3 separate regions of the Homo sapiens genome follow, and regions 1 and 2 are each linked to region 3. The links are contacts of gene promoters, found by promoter capture Hi-C in blood cells and fetal thymus (Javierre and others, 2016). All regions are on one chromosome and are shown on one strand. Each heading gives the region's core, a stretch centred on a gene start or on the middle of the fragment in contact. The rest is flanking DNA. Distances are from core to core; before and after follow the strand shown. Region 1 holds the start of DDN (dendrin). Region 2 overlaps RND1 (Rho family GTPase 1). Region 3 holds the start of FKBP11 (FKBP prolyl isomerase 11).

Region 1 (3,784 bases), core at 1,133-3,632, 74 kb after region 3:
GTGTCCGAGTCAGGGGCTGTGTGGCGGCGGATACGGGACACGGCTTCTCGCAGGGCCCCGGCGTAGGGCCCTGGGGTCCGCGCCCAGCCCCGGCCGGCGCGCCGCTGGACCACCGCCACTTCCGACCCCTCGGCTCTGCCCTGGGCTCCCGAAGCTGCTGGGCCTAAGGCTTGGTGCTCTGGGCTACCTGGCTGCGTGGGGGCGTCCCGCAGGTTTACTTCGGGGGCCGGGAGCCCCAAGATGCGGAAAGTGCGCTCCTCCAGTGTGGAGTCCCCCGGCCTCCCGCCCTCAGCTTCGCCCCCGCGGCCCCCGCCGGGCTGGTGTAAAAGGCGACTGCTCGACAGCCGCTTTTGACAAGGGGAAGGAAAGACCGTGGCCCCTTCACCCTCCTCCTTGCCGGGCTTCGATTGGCTGGGGGAATCCCCCACCACGCGTGTCACCCCAGAGGGCAAAAGCTGCACCTGCTGGGTTCGGGGGGTTGGAACATATTGGGATCGTATCACTACGCACGTGGCGTCAATGACAAAGACGCCTTCCCCACGGGACAGGCCCTGGGAACTGCGGGGCAAGGTGTGGGCACGGCGGGTCGCCTTCCAACCCTCCAGGGTCTCCGGTCCTGCCCCCTCTCCAAGACCCAGAGATTCTCTCCATCCGGTGCCTCCGGGAGCCCAGGGTCTGGGGAGTGTCTGGCTATGGCGGGGCGGCTGCTTTTTAGGGGAGGGAATCCAGCATTTGGGAAACCAGATCTGTTCTCCTTCTTTCCCTTCCCTCGAGCCCTTGAGGTGGTGCCTGGATCTGGGAGCGGGATGCGGGGCACAGGGAGCCGCAGTTGCAGACCCCGCAGGAGCTATCTCGGTGCCTGCGCTCCCTGTAGCTTTGGCTTGGGGATGGCTGTCGCTACCACTGTTCAGGTCAGCAGCAGCCAGCCCCAGGCTTTTCTCCACGACCCCCTTGCCGGGCTCTGGCCTTGCTCTGGCCGCTCCACAGCCTGGGGATCCCCCCAAGAGACCTTGCCCCTGTCGGAGACCCCAAGCCCCGAGGACGTCCCGGTAGATCCGAGGATCCAGCCTCTTCTTTGTGCGCCCTCCGTCTGTCCTGGCTGGAGTCGCAGCTGGGGCTGATGAAGTGGGCACCTGAGAGTTCCCGGGGCCTCTCTTAGTCCCCAAGGTCCTATGGGGGCCTTCGTAAGAAGGTGGAGCCACGTAGGGTGGCGGCCGGTCCCAGCGGCGTCGTGGGGCGGTCCCGGCAGAACCTCTCAGCAGCAGGTGAGCCTCGTAGCTTGGGGGCCCGGGCCGCCGACCTCCCCAGGGCCCCGCCCACGCCGACCCTGGGTCGCTCTGCGGCTGCGCGGATGGACGGGGCGCTCGCCCCACAGGCGCCAGGCGCTCCGGCCGCAAGGGAGCAGGGAGCCCTGCCAGCTGGGCCACCCGAGGGGCGTTGCGGGGCTCCGGGCGGGGTCGACCCGGGGGGCTCCGTCGGGCCCCACCAGCCTTGCGCCTTTTTCGCTCGGTCTCCTTGGCCTCCCGCTCCTGCGACGCCGCTTTCCTTTTCTCTTGCTCCCGAGCTCGGACCTCGGCCAGGGGCCCCGCCCGCCAGTTGGTCGCCTCCTGCAGCACCCTGGAGGCCCAGGGCCGGCGGGGCGGCGGCTGTGGGGATCCCGGGCGCGGCCCACACCTGGGACAATGAGCAGGAACCCAGGTGAGCAGTTTGTGGGGGAAGGGAGCCGAGGTCCGGGGAGCTGGGAGCACTGGAGACCACTTGGGGCAGCCATGTGAAGGGGTGTGTGTGAGTGTGTGCGCGTGTGCACGTGCGTATATGTTAGGACTGAAGTCGAAGCGGGACTCCTCGCCATCTCTCCATGCACACTTTAACAGCGTCTGCCCCATCTCACCTCCTGCCCTTTCTCACACCCACTTCTGTTCCCCCAAACAACGGGATGAGTCAGGCCCCAGCCCTCGGGAGCGGGCAGAGGTGGAAGGCGTGGGAAAGAGAAGGGGGACCAGCAGTGCTCGCTGGTGCCTGCGGGGAGGTCCGGACCCCACTCCCCGCCCCACCACTCTCTTCCCCTCACCCCTGCTTCACTCACGTGCGGTTCTGGAACCCGCGAGCCCAGTGGCTGGCCTGGAAGTCCATGGGCTGTCGAGAAGGGGCGCGGCGACTATAATGACAGGAAATAGTCTTCACTTCTATCACCAATAGCTTGGACTTCTGCACCCAGAGGCAGCTGCCAGACTCCTCATCCTGGAGCTCCCGGGGGCTGTCAGGCCCCTCGGAGAACAGTGGGCCATCCAGCATCCTGCCCCACCCCACCCCGGCCCCCCACCCTCCCACCCGCCCCAGGAGCCCCCTCCCAGCCCAGGGAGCCGGCGCCCACTGCAGAGCCGCGGGCCCGGGGACTGGGAACTATATATACCCGGGCACACGTGTGTGTGCCTGTCTCTGTGTGTGCGCGCGCATGTGACACCGCGCGGACTGCTCCGCGCTGCTACCTCCCCCATGTGCACGGCCGCCCCCTGGGGCCCGGGATTGGACGCCCCTTCCCACTGCTGTTGTCCCCCAAGCCTGATGGGATCGCACGAGTGGGCGGGGGAGGGACTTATGATTCTTGCCAAGCTGACAGTGCCCCCTCCCCCGCCCCTATTTCTTCAACCTTCCTGCCGTTTTAACCCTTTACTCTCCTGCTTGTCAGGTTGCCTGACCACCAGGGTTCTGCCCCTGGCTTCCTGCCTCAGATTTCAGTTTCCCCAACATAGAGTGATGAGATTGGAACTCAAGGTCTCTGCCTGCCACTCTGCTGGTTTCCATGGGGCTGGGGTGCAGGAGGGGCTGGCCCACGGCTGGGGGGCTATTTTTAGCGGCAGTGGCTGTTCGGGTGCAGAGATGAGATGAGTAACCAGCTCCCATGCGGTGGAGAGAGGAGGCGGTGGCTTTTACCAAGCTTTTGTGCGACTCTGAGGGAGAGCTGCCTTCCCTAAGCTCAAAAAGGGTGACCCCTACACCCGTATCTCCTTGTCAGCTCAGTGCTGCAGCCTAGGACTGCTGGTACAGCAGGACACAGGCGTCTGCCTTGGCCACCCAAGCTGCCCTACCAGTTCCATTCTACATGTTTGTCCTTGGGCAGCCAGGGAGCCCTCCCACAGCAGCAGGCTTTCACCTCCAATCCAGAAGCCAGGATTTGGGGGTTATATTGTTCTGTGCCCACACAGCCTGCCCAGCTTTATGGAGGACAGAGTAAGTGCTTATGCACTCTCACCCTTCCAGAGGGGGATGGAGGAGAAATGATGTGTTTGCTTGGCAAAACTAATCCCCTAGCAACTGAAATGATAAAAGTGGCCTTTATTTTTTTCAATGTAGAACTCCCCCTCACCACCACCACAATGCCTAGTTCACTCAGTCCCCACCTTAAGTGGTGCTCCAGATGCTCACCTTTTGGGCTGCCTCTGTCCTGGGGGGCTGTTGCTTATATCCACATGATCCCTCCTCCTAAGCTTATACCAGGTGTCCCCTGATTCACCATGGTAATGTTAGTGGCAGCACAGCCCACGCCAACCCTTCCATGCAGAGACTTAGCAACCATGCCTGGCAACCATGGCAGCAGCTTCAGTGGAGGGGAGCAGTGCAGAGAGAGGGGAGAGTGTGTGGGGCATGGTTCCTCGGGAAGAAGGGATAATTTGCCTCTCTGGAGAGGAATAGGTAAGAATAGAAGCTTGTGAGTCTCCCAAATTTCATCCCTTGTCTCTCCCTCAGCTTCATCCTCACACTGAGACGGATAGGTTGGGTTTTA
Region 2 (3,395 bases), core at 778-3,277, 68 kb before region 3:
CTTGAGCCCAGAAGTTCAAGACCAGCCTGGGCAACATGGTGAAACCCCATCTCCACAAAAAATAGACTACTACTGTGGTACTCCTGTAGTCCTAGCTACCCAGGAGGCTGAGGTAGGAGGGTCAGGAGGGTGATCAGGACGGTGAACCAGGAGGGTGAGGTTGCAGTGAGCAGTGGTCATGCCACTGTACTCCAGCGTGGGCGACAGAGTGAGACCCTGTCTCAAAAAAAAAAAAAGAAAAATCTCGTAAGTGCCCCGACCCATAGTAAACATTTAACAAATGTTAGCTCTTATCATTTATGAGTCTAAATGTGATCATGTAAAGCCCTCAACACAGTGCACAGTGCTGAACACTCATTAAGTACATGCTAACTTTATTTATTTATTTATTTATTTAGAGATGGAGTCTCCCTCTTTTGCCCAGGTTGGAGTGCAGTGGCGCAATCTTGGCTCACTGCAACCTCTGCCTCCCGGGTTTAAGCGATTCTCCTGCCTCAGCCTCCCGAGTAGTTGGGATTACAGGCACGTGCCACCATGCCCGGCTAATTTTTGTATTTTAGTAGAGATGGGGTTTCACCGTGTTAGCCAGGATGGTCTCGATCTCCCGACCTTGTGATCCACCTGCCTCAGCCTCCCAAAGTTCTGGGATTACAGGCTTGAGCCACCGCGCCTGGCCTAGTACATGCTAACTTTATTTCTGGCACTAGCACTACACTATGGCACTTGGAAAACAAGAGCTATAAGTCACTGAGAAAGGAAGTTAAGAGTTAAGGCCCCTGAGCTGCCATCAGTAGGCATCGGAATTGGAAGGTCATGAAGGCAAATGTCACCTCTCCTTGAACTCAGAGGAGACCAGAATCCCAGGAGCCTCCCCCAGCTTTGGCTTAGTCTGTCCACCTTCTATGTGGGGTGGAATCTCAGCAGCTTGGATCCTCTACTGATGATTTCATCCAACCTTTTTCTCTCCTCTAGACTCTCCAGGGCAGTGGTTCTCAACCAGAATTTTTCCACAGGGGCCATTTAGCAACGTCTGGAGACATTTTTGGGTGTGATAGCTGGAGAGTGGGGTGCTGTCTTCTAGCATCCACCAGATCAGGGACACTGCTAAACATCTTGGGCTGCATAGGACAGTCCCTCACAACAAAGCATTATCCAGTCCAAAATGTCAATAGTTCCAGGGTTGAGAACCCCTGCACCCCTGCTCTCGGGCTAAGGAGCCCTTCCTTGGTTTAGTAGGTCTTGGGTGGGGCTAGGGCAGGGGGATGGGGGAAGAGAGAAGCTCCTTCTTGGAGGAGCTGGGGAATGGTGGAGGCAGCCCCTCTGCAACCCACAGAAAGGGTCCCAGGACAGCTTTTCTCTCATTATCATCAACCAAAGGGCTCAAGCACGGTGGCTCATGCCTGTAATCCCAGCTCTTAGGGAGGCAGAGATGTGAGGATAGCTTGAGCCCAGGAGTTTGAGACCTGCCTGAGCAATATAGCGAGACCCTGTTCTCCACAAAAAGGAAAAAAAAAAAAGACCAAAAAAAAAAAATACCAATTGTAACAACTAAAGAAAACAGAAAAAAATACGGAGCCAAATTCTTTATATGTATTATATTTTTCATTAATAAATAGGTTTTCTTCATTAAACACAGAACATATAACAGATTGAAACACTCCCCCCCTCCCCCCAATTCCAAAGACAAGAGTCTATAAAACAAATGCCAGCTGTACTACCCTAAGGGCAGAAAAAGTCTGGTGACCCCCACCCAGCCCTGCCCCTGCAGCACCACCACCCCCACACTCTGCAAGAGAAGGGGGTCTGGGGCTTCTCCCTTGGACCCTGGGGACTTAGGTGAGAAGCATGTGAATGTATGATGTCACCTCTCCATGAGGCATGGGCTATGCAAAGATGAGGTTTCCTTCTCATTGGCTCTGACCAGCTCCTGCACTTCCGATTGCAGTTACGAAGCACCTGGGCTAAGCCCCCAAGGGAGCTGCCGCTCCACTTCCCCACTCTCCGTTGCTGCCTCCTTAGAGGGGAAGGGAAGGGCTCAGGGACCCCTCCCATCCCCTGACCTGCATGGAAACGCTGTGTGGAAGAGGCATGAAGCTGAAGGTGAGGCTGCTGTAGGCCCCCAAGCCCATGAGGCCAGCATGCCCCCCGTCCCCCACAGCTTTCCTTCCTCTGGAGCGGGGGGGGCACTGGGGTAGTCGCCCCCTCCAAAATCTAGTGCCTGGCTTGGGGTATGATGGTTCTCTCTCAGCGTCAGGTCCTCATGCCGGGCCTGGCTCCTTCCTCGCCCCATTCCTGTCTCCTTCCAAGCCCTCACCGTGGCCATCTGAAAAACTCATGTCCAGTGTCCTAAATTGTCTCATCCTCCCTCTCCCCGTGCCTCTGCACCCCAAGGGAGGAAGTAGGGGGTTGTCTCCCCCCTCCAATTTCCACTTCACATAATGGAACAGCTTTTGGCCTTTTCCTTCTTGAAGGTAGAAGAGATGAGTTCAGAGCGACTGGGGAGGTGGAGCAGTCGTTTGGAGAGGCTTCGGACAGGGCTCTTCTGGGGCAGTGGGCTAGGCTTGTTCAGACACAGCATGGATGCCGTCCGAAAGATGCTGTGGATGCTCTTTTCTGAGGTGAAAGCTGAGCCTTCCAGGTAGATTTCTGCACCCAGCTGCTTTGCTATTGCACAACCCTGCAGGAGGGGGTGAGGGCATTAATGCAGTGGGCCAAAATGGCTCTGGGACGCTGCCTCTGTGCGTCACTCCCCAGGGCCACTCCAGAGGGGACCCAGCTGCCAGTCTCCAAACACCACCCTCTGCAGATTATTCGATTATCTTTTCTTTTTTTTTTTTTTTTTTGGCATACACCCTGTCTGATGATGCCTCTTTTTCTTAAGACGATGCCTGACTGCACATTATAAATCATCTGGAATACTCTTAAAACTATATTGATGCCAAACTAAATTAGAATTTCTGGGGATAGCTGGGGCAGTGGCTAGTGCCTCTAATCCCAGCTACTCAGGAGGCTGTGATGGGAGGATCACTTGAGGAGGCCAGGAGTTCAAGACCAGCCTAGGTGGCCGGGCGCGGTGGCTTACACCCATAATCCCAGCGCTTTGGAATTACAAAAATAAATCTCAAAAATAAAGATAATAAAATAATAATAAACACTTTTAAAAAATGTTTAAAAATTCACTGGAAGTGGGCACACAACTATAGTCTCAAATACTAGAGAGGATCCCTTGAGCCCAGGAGTTCTGCACTGTAGTGAGCTAGGATCACACCACTGCACTTCATTCTGGGTGACAGAGTAAGACCCTGTCTCTGGAAAAAAAAAAAAAAAAAAAAGGAAAAGGAAAAAAAAATTCTGGGTATAGAGCCAAGGCATTAGTATTCTTCTTTTTCTTTCTT
Region 3 (3,493 bases), core at 984-3,483:
TCCATCTCAACCCTTCAAAAATAGACATCGGCAGTGACCAATGATGGCTTTTAAAGTTATGGGGCAGACTTGGCTTTAACAGTTGCTTTTTGTTTTGTTTTGAATCACTTGACTGTGATTATTTTTACTGTCTCTTCCCTGATGGAGGCTGAAAGGAAGGGGTGGGGGGTGGCTGTACAGCTGACACAGCGTAGAGTTGTAGAAAAGGGCAGGAAAGAAGTCCAGTGTTCTGGGAAAGGTGGTGGCACAGGCAGCAGACCCATGTGGCCCAAGCAGGTCTCTTCCCTAACAAGTTACTGGCTGCTGGAGGTCATGCCAGGTGGCCTCATCAGGTTGTCTTTAGTCCCTGTTGGTGATATGAGGAGGAAAAAGGTGGCCCTGTAGATGGAGGCCCCAGCCACTCCTATCTGTCTAAACAAACTTGGTCTGGATCTTCTCAAGCATCAAACAAAGTATATAGCTCCTTATAGCTCTTAGGGACTGGGTATTTTGATGGCCTGAGAGAGAGTCCTAGTCAGATTACCTGGGACAGATGGTGGAAATCCCCGTTTTCCATAGGCCAAGTGAGAAGGAATGATTGCCCTTCGCTTCTCTCTGAGGGAAGGAATGTCAGTCACAGCCAGAGGCAGGAGAGGTAGGCCAGCAGCCTCAGTCCAGCTGAAGCTCCTTCAGCAAAACCCCCTGAATCTTCACACCCAAAACACGAATTTTTCCACCTGAACACCAAACAGGCTGGCCAGCAAAGGTGTCCATCTCCCCATGTGCCTCAACTCCCCCGACAAAAGCAACAGCGCAAGAGGCACAGAGGCTTTGAATGCCCTCAGAGGTCCCACTGACCTGGACCTGTCCAGTGGGAAGCAGGGTCCTTTATTCCACATTCTCCTGCTTAAGGAGTGAGGATGGCCGAGAAAGCCTCTACCCATGCAAAGGGGGTACCCAGGCCCACCCCTGCCGAGATACTCACCCCACACACATGTCGAGAAGACTCTGCTCCAGACCTTGAAGAAGAAGACACAACTGAACTGGAAGCTATCCACCTTCCCCAAATCCCATGACATGAAGATCAAAGTCTTCCTCCTCCATCCTCAATTGACCTTTCCCTCACTTCTTAAATCTCTGGCTTCCAATAGGATATGGGACAAGTGGAGTACTAGAAGTGAGGTTTGAACCTCAGGAGGTAACTCGTAGAGCCCTAGGGTCTTACTCATTTCAGGGGGGATTTCCAGGGCAGCTTTGGAGCCGAAGAGGCTAAGAAAGGGCTTAGGTTGGGAAGAGGTGGAATGGGAGGCACAGGTCACATACCTGGAATCACCTGCTTTTGGCCAAGTTCTATAACCAGAGGGTCTCTGGTCAGGGAGGTGTCAATAATACGTCCATCTACCAAGCTTCCCTGGGGGGAGAGAGCATCAAGAGCATACATCTAGCACCCTCTCCCTCCCAGCAGGCGCGCAACACACACCTGGACCGCTGGGCGGCGGCAGCCCCCTTAGTGCGGCAGCCTAGCGTTCCCCTTACCGCTGTAAGGAACAGGAAGCCCCAGAAGGCTGGCGCTTCTCGGAGATCTCTCCACCCTGCACTTCTCCGTGCCAGGTAGGAACTGGCAGAAAAGCAAGGAGGGAAAAGAGGCACGGAAGAGCAACGTCTCTCCCCTCGCCACGTGCTCGACGACCCCAGAGCCCCGAGTTTCTTCTCCCGAACCGCTTGCCACGTGTCCAAGCCAAAGCTGACGTGTTTCAGCAGGGCGCCGCCCCCTCCCAGGCCCCGCCCCGGCCCCCCAGACCCCTCACCGTGTAGTGTATGTGAAGCGTGTCTCCAAAAGCAGCGGGCTCGGCACATGGTTCTGGGGGCTCCACCTACGATCGGACTACAGGGGTCACGGATGCTCTTCCAAAGATCCCGTTCTCGCCCCTAGACCCGGCACCACCCCCAACTCAGTTCCCGCACTTCCTCTCCTCCCGGCTCCCAGGTTCGCTGAGACCCCAGTATTACCACCCAACAAGGCTCGGCCCACGGGGGCTGAGGGTCGGGACTATCTCCTCACCAGGGTCTCCACTTGGAGGGTCCGGACGGGACTTTCGGTTTCGAGCCCAGCCTCAGCCCGGCACACCGCCGCACTGAGCAGCAGCAGCAGCAGCAGATGGAGCGGGAGGAGTGAGGGGCGCAGGGTCATGACTGGGCGCGGGGCAGGGAGCCGGGGCACCAGGACAGGCTGTTCGGGTGGCGGCAGCCAGGACAGCGTTCCCGCGGCGCCCAGGCCAGACTGGACGGGACGGGGCGGGTCGCGATGCTAGAGCTCCTCCTCCTGCAGCCCTTCCTCCACCTTGTCCCCACCTCCGAAAGGGAGGAGGCCGAGGGGCGCCCTCTGTACCCTCCAAGATCCGGAGGGCGCAGGTTCTGACGCATCCGTTAGACGTTCTGTCCTATAACGTGGGTCGGGCCAAACAATAGCACCCATTTACGATTACCTACTGTGTGTCAGGAGCTAGTCTCTAATCCTCAAAACCACCCTGAAAGGTCGGCATGATTGTTTCCATTTTACAGATAAGGCACAGGGTGCTCAGGATGTGCCCAAGGTCATCAGGCTAGGTGGTGACAGAGACAGGATTCAAACCCAGGACTGCCTGAGTCCAACGTGGTTGCTGTCTGTTCTTCCAAGTCGTCTCCTTGTGGCTATCCTGGCAGTGTCTGGCTGGCAGACCCCACCCAGGCAGTTCTCATTCCTCTCCGACCTCCAGCTACTTCAGCTTGAATTTCTGGAGGTTATAGATCCAAGTATCCGAAATAAGGCAGGGGGCTGTCCTATCCCTGTCCTTTGAAAAGCTAGCTGAAAAGAGCAAGGAGCTGTTATCCTGTAAGAACAGGGTAAATCCCTGATCTTTTCCTCTGGTGCTACTATTTCCTTTCTCCTTTCATCAACAAACTTCTCAAAGGGCAGCACACGTAATCCATTTATGTAAAGACTTCACTTTTTTTTTTTTTTTTTTTTTTGAGATGGAGTCTCGCTCTGTGGCCCAGGCTGGAGTGCAGTGGTGCCATCTCCACTCACTGCAACCTCCGCCTCCCAGGTTCAAGCGATTCTCCTGCCTCAGCCTCCCAAGTAGCTGGGATTACACCCGCCACCACGCCCGGCTAATTTTTGTATTTTTAGTAGATAAGGGGTTTCACCATGTTGGCCAGGCTGGTCTCAAACTCCTGATGTCAGGTGATCCGCCTGCCTCGGTCTCTCAAAGTGCTAGGATTACAGGCGTGAGCCACCAGATTTCTTTTTTTTTTTTTTTTTTTGAGGGGGAGGAGTTTTGCTCCTGTTGCCCAGGCTGGAGTGCAATGGCGCGATCTTGGCTCACCGCAACCTCTGCTCCCGAGTAGCTGGGACTACAGGCATGCGCCACCATGCCCAGCTGATTTTGAATTTTTAGTAAAGACAGGGTTTCTCCATGTCTGTCAGGCTGGTCTCGAATTCCCAACCTCAAGTGATCCACCCACCTCGGCCTTC

The links. Contacts are between HindIII fragments. The CHiCAGO score rates a contact against its expected background, and 5 or more counts as called.
Region 1: a contact is called between the fragment with the promoter of DDN here and the fragment with the promoter of FKBP11 in region 3, in 6 of 17 cell types (naive B cells, total B cells, erythroblasts and 3 more). The highest score is 7.0, in naive B cells.
Region 2: a fragment that was not itself captured here is called in contact with the fragment with the promoter of FKBP11 in region 3 in 7 of 17 cell types (total CD8 T cells, total CD4 T cells, naive CD4 T cells and 4 more); the score reaches 8.0 in total CD8 T cells.

What each region holds. Positions count from the first base shown.
Region 1 is chr12:48,996,993-49,000,776 of GRCh38, forward strand. It overlaps DDN (dendrin), which reads right to left and starts at 2,383. Exons shown (of 2, transcript NM_015086.2): 1 at 2,087-2,383; 2 at 1-1,674. The coding sequence starts at 2,295. DDN-AS1 (DDN and PRKAG1 antisense RNA 1) reads left to right here and starts at 1,355. Exons shown (of 2, transcript NR_147179.1): 1 at 1,355-1,698. RefSeq lists silencers at 1-364, 565-654, 1,205-1,664, 2,314-2,608 and enhancers at 1,015-1,084, 2,754-3,048. The HindIII fragment of the contact is 4,772 bases long and covers 1-2,936 here.
Region 2 is chr12:48,855,565-48,858,959 of GRCh38, forward strand. RND1 (Rho family GTPase 1) reads right to left here. Exons shown (of 5, transcript NM_014470.4): 5 at 1,581-2,677. The coding sequence ends at 2,432. Among named protein-coding and RNA genes, the nearest start is that of DDX23, 5.1 kb to the left of the region's middle. RefSeq lists an enhancer at 1,965-2,034. The HindIII fragment of the contact is 7,230 bases long and covers 1-3,395 here.
Region 3 is chr12:48,923,259-48,926,751 of GRCh38, forward strand. FKBP11 (FKBP prolyl isomerase 11) reads right to left here and starts at 2,234. Exons shown (of 6, transcript NM_016594.3): 1 at 2,042-2,234; 2 at 1,788-1,853; 3 at 1,303-1,390; 4 at 965-998; 5 at 524-594. The coding sequence starts at 2,170. RefSeq lists enhancers at 1,180-1,239, 2,500-2,599. The HindIII fragment of the contact is 4,966 bases long and covers 1,384-3,493 here.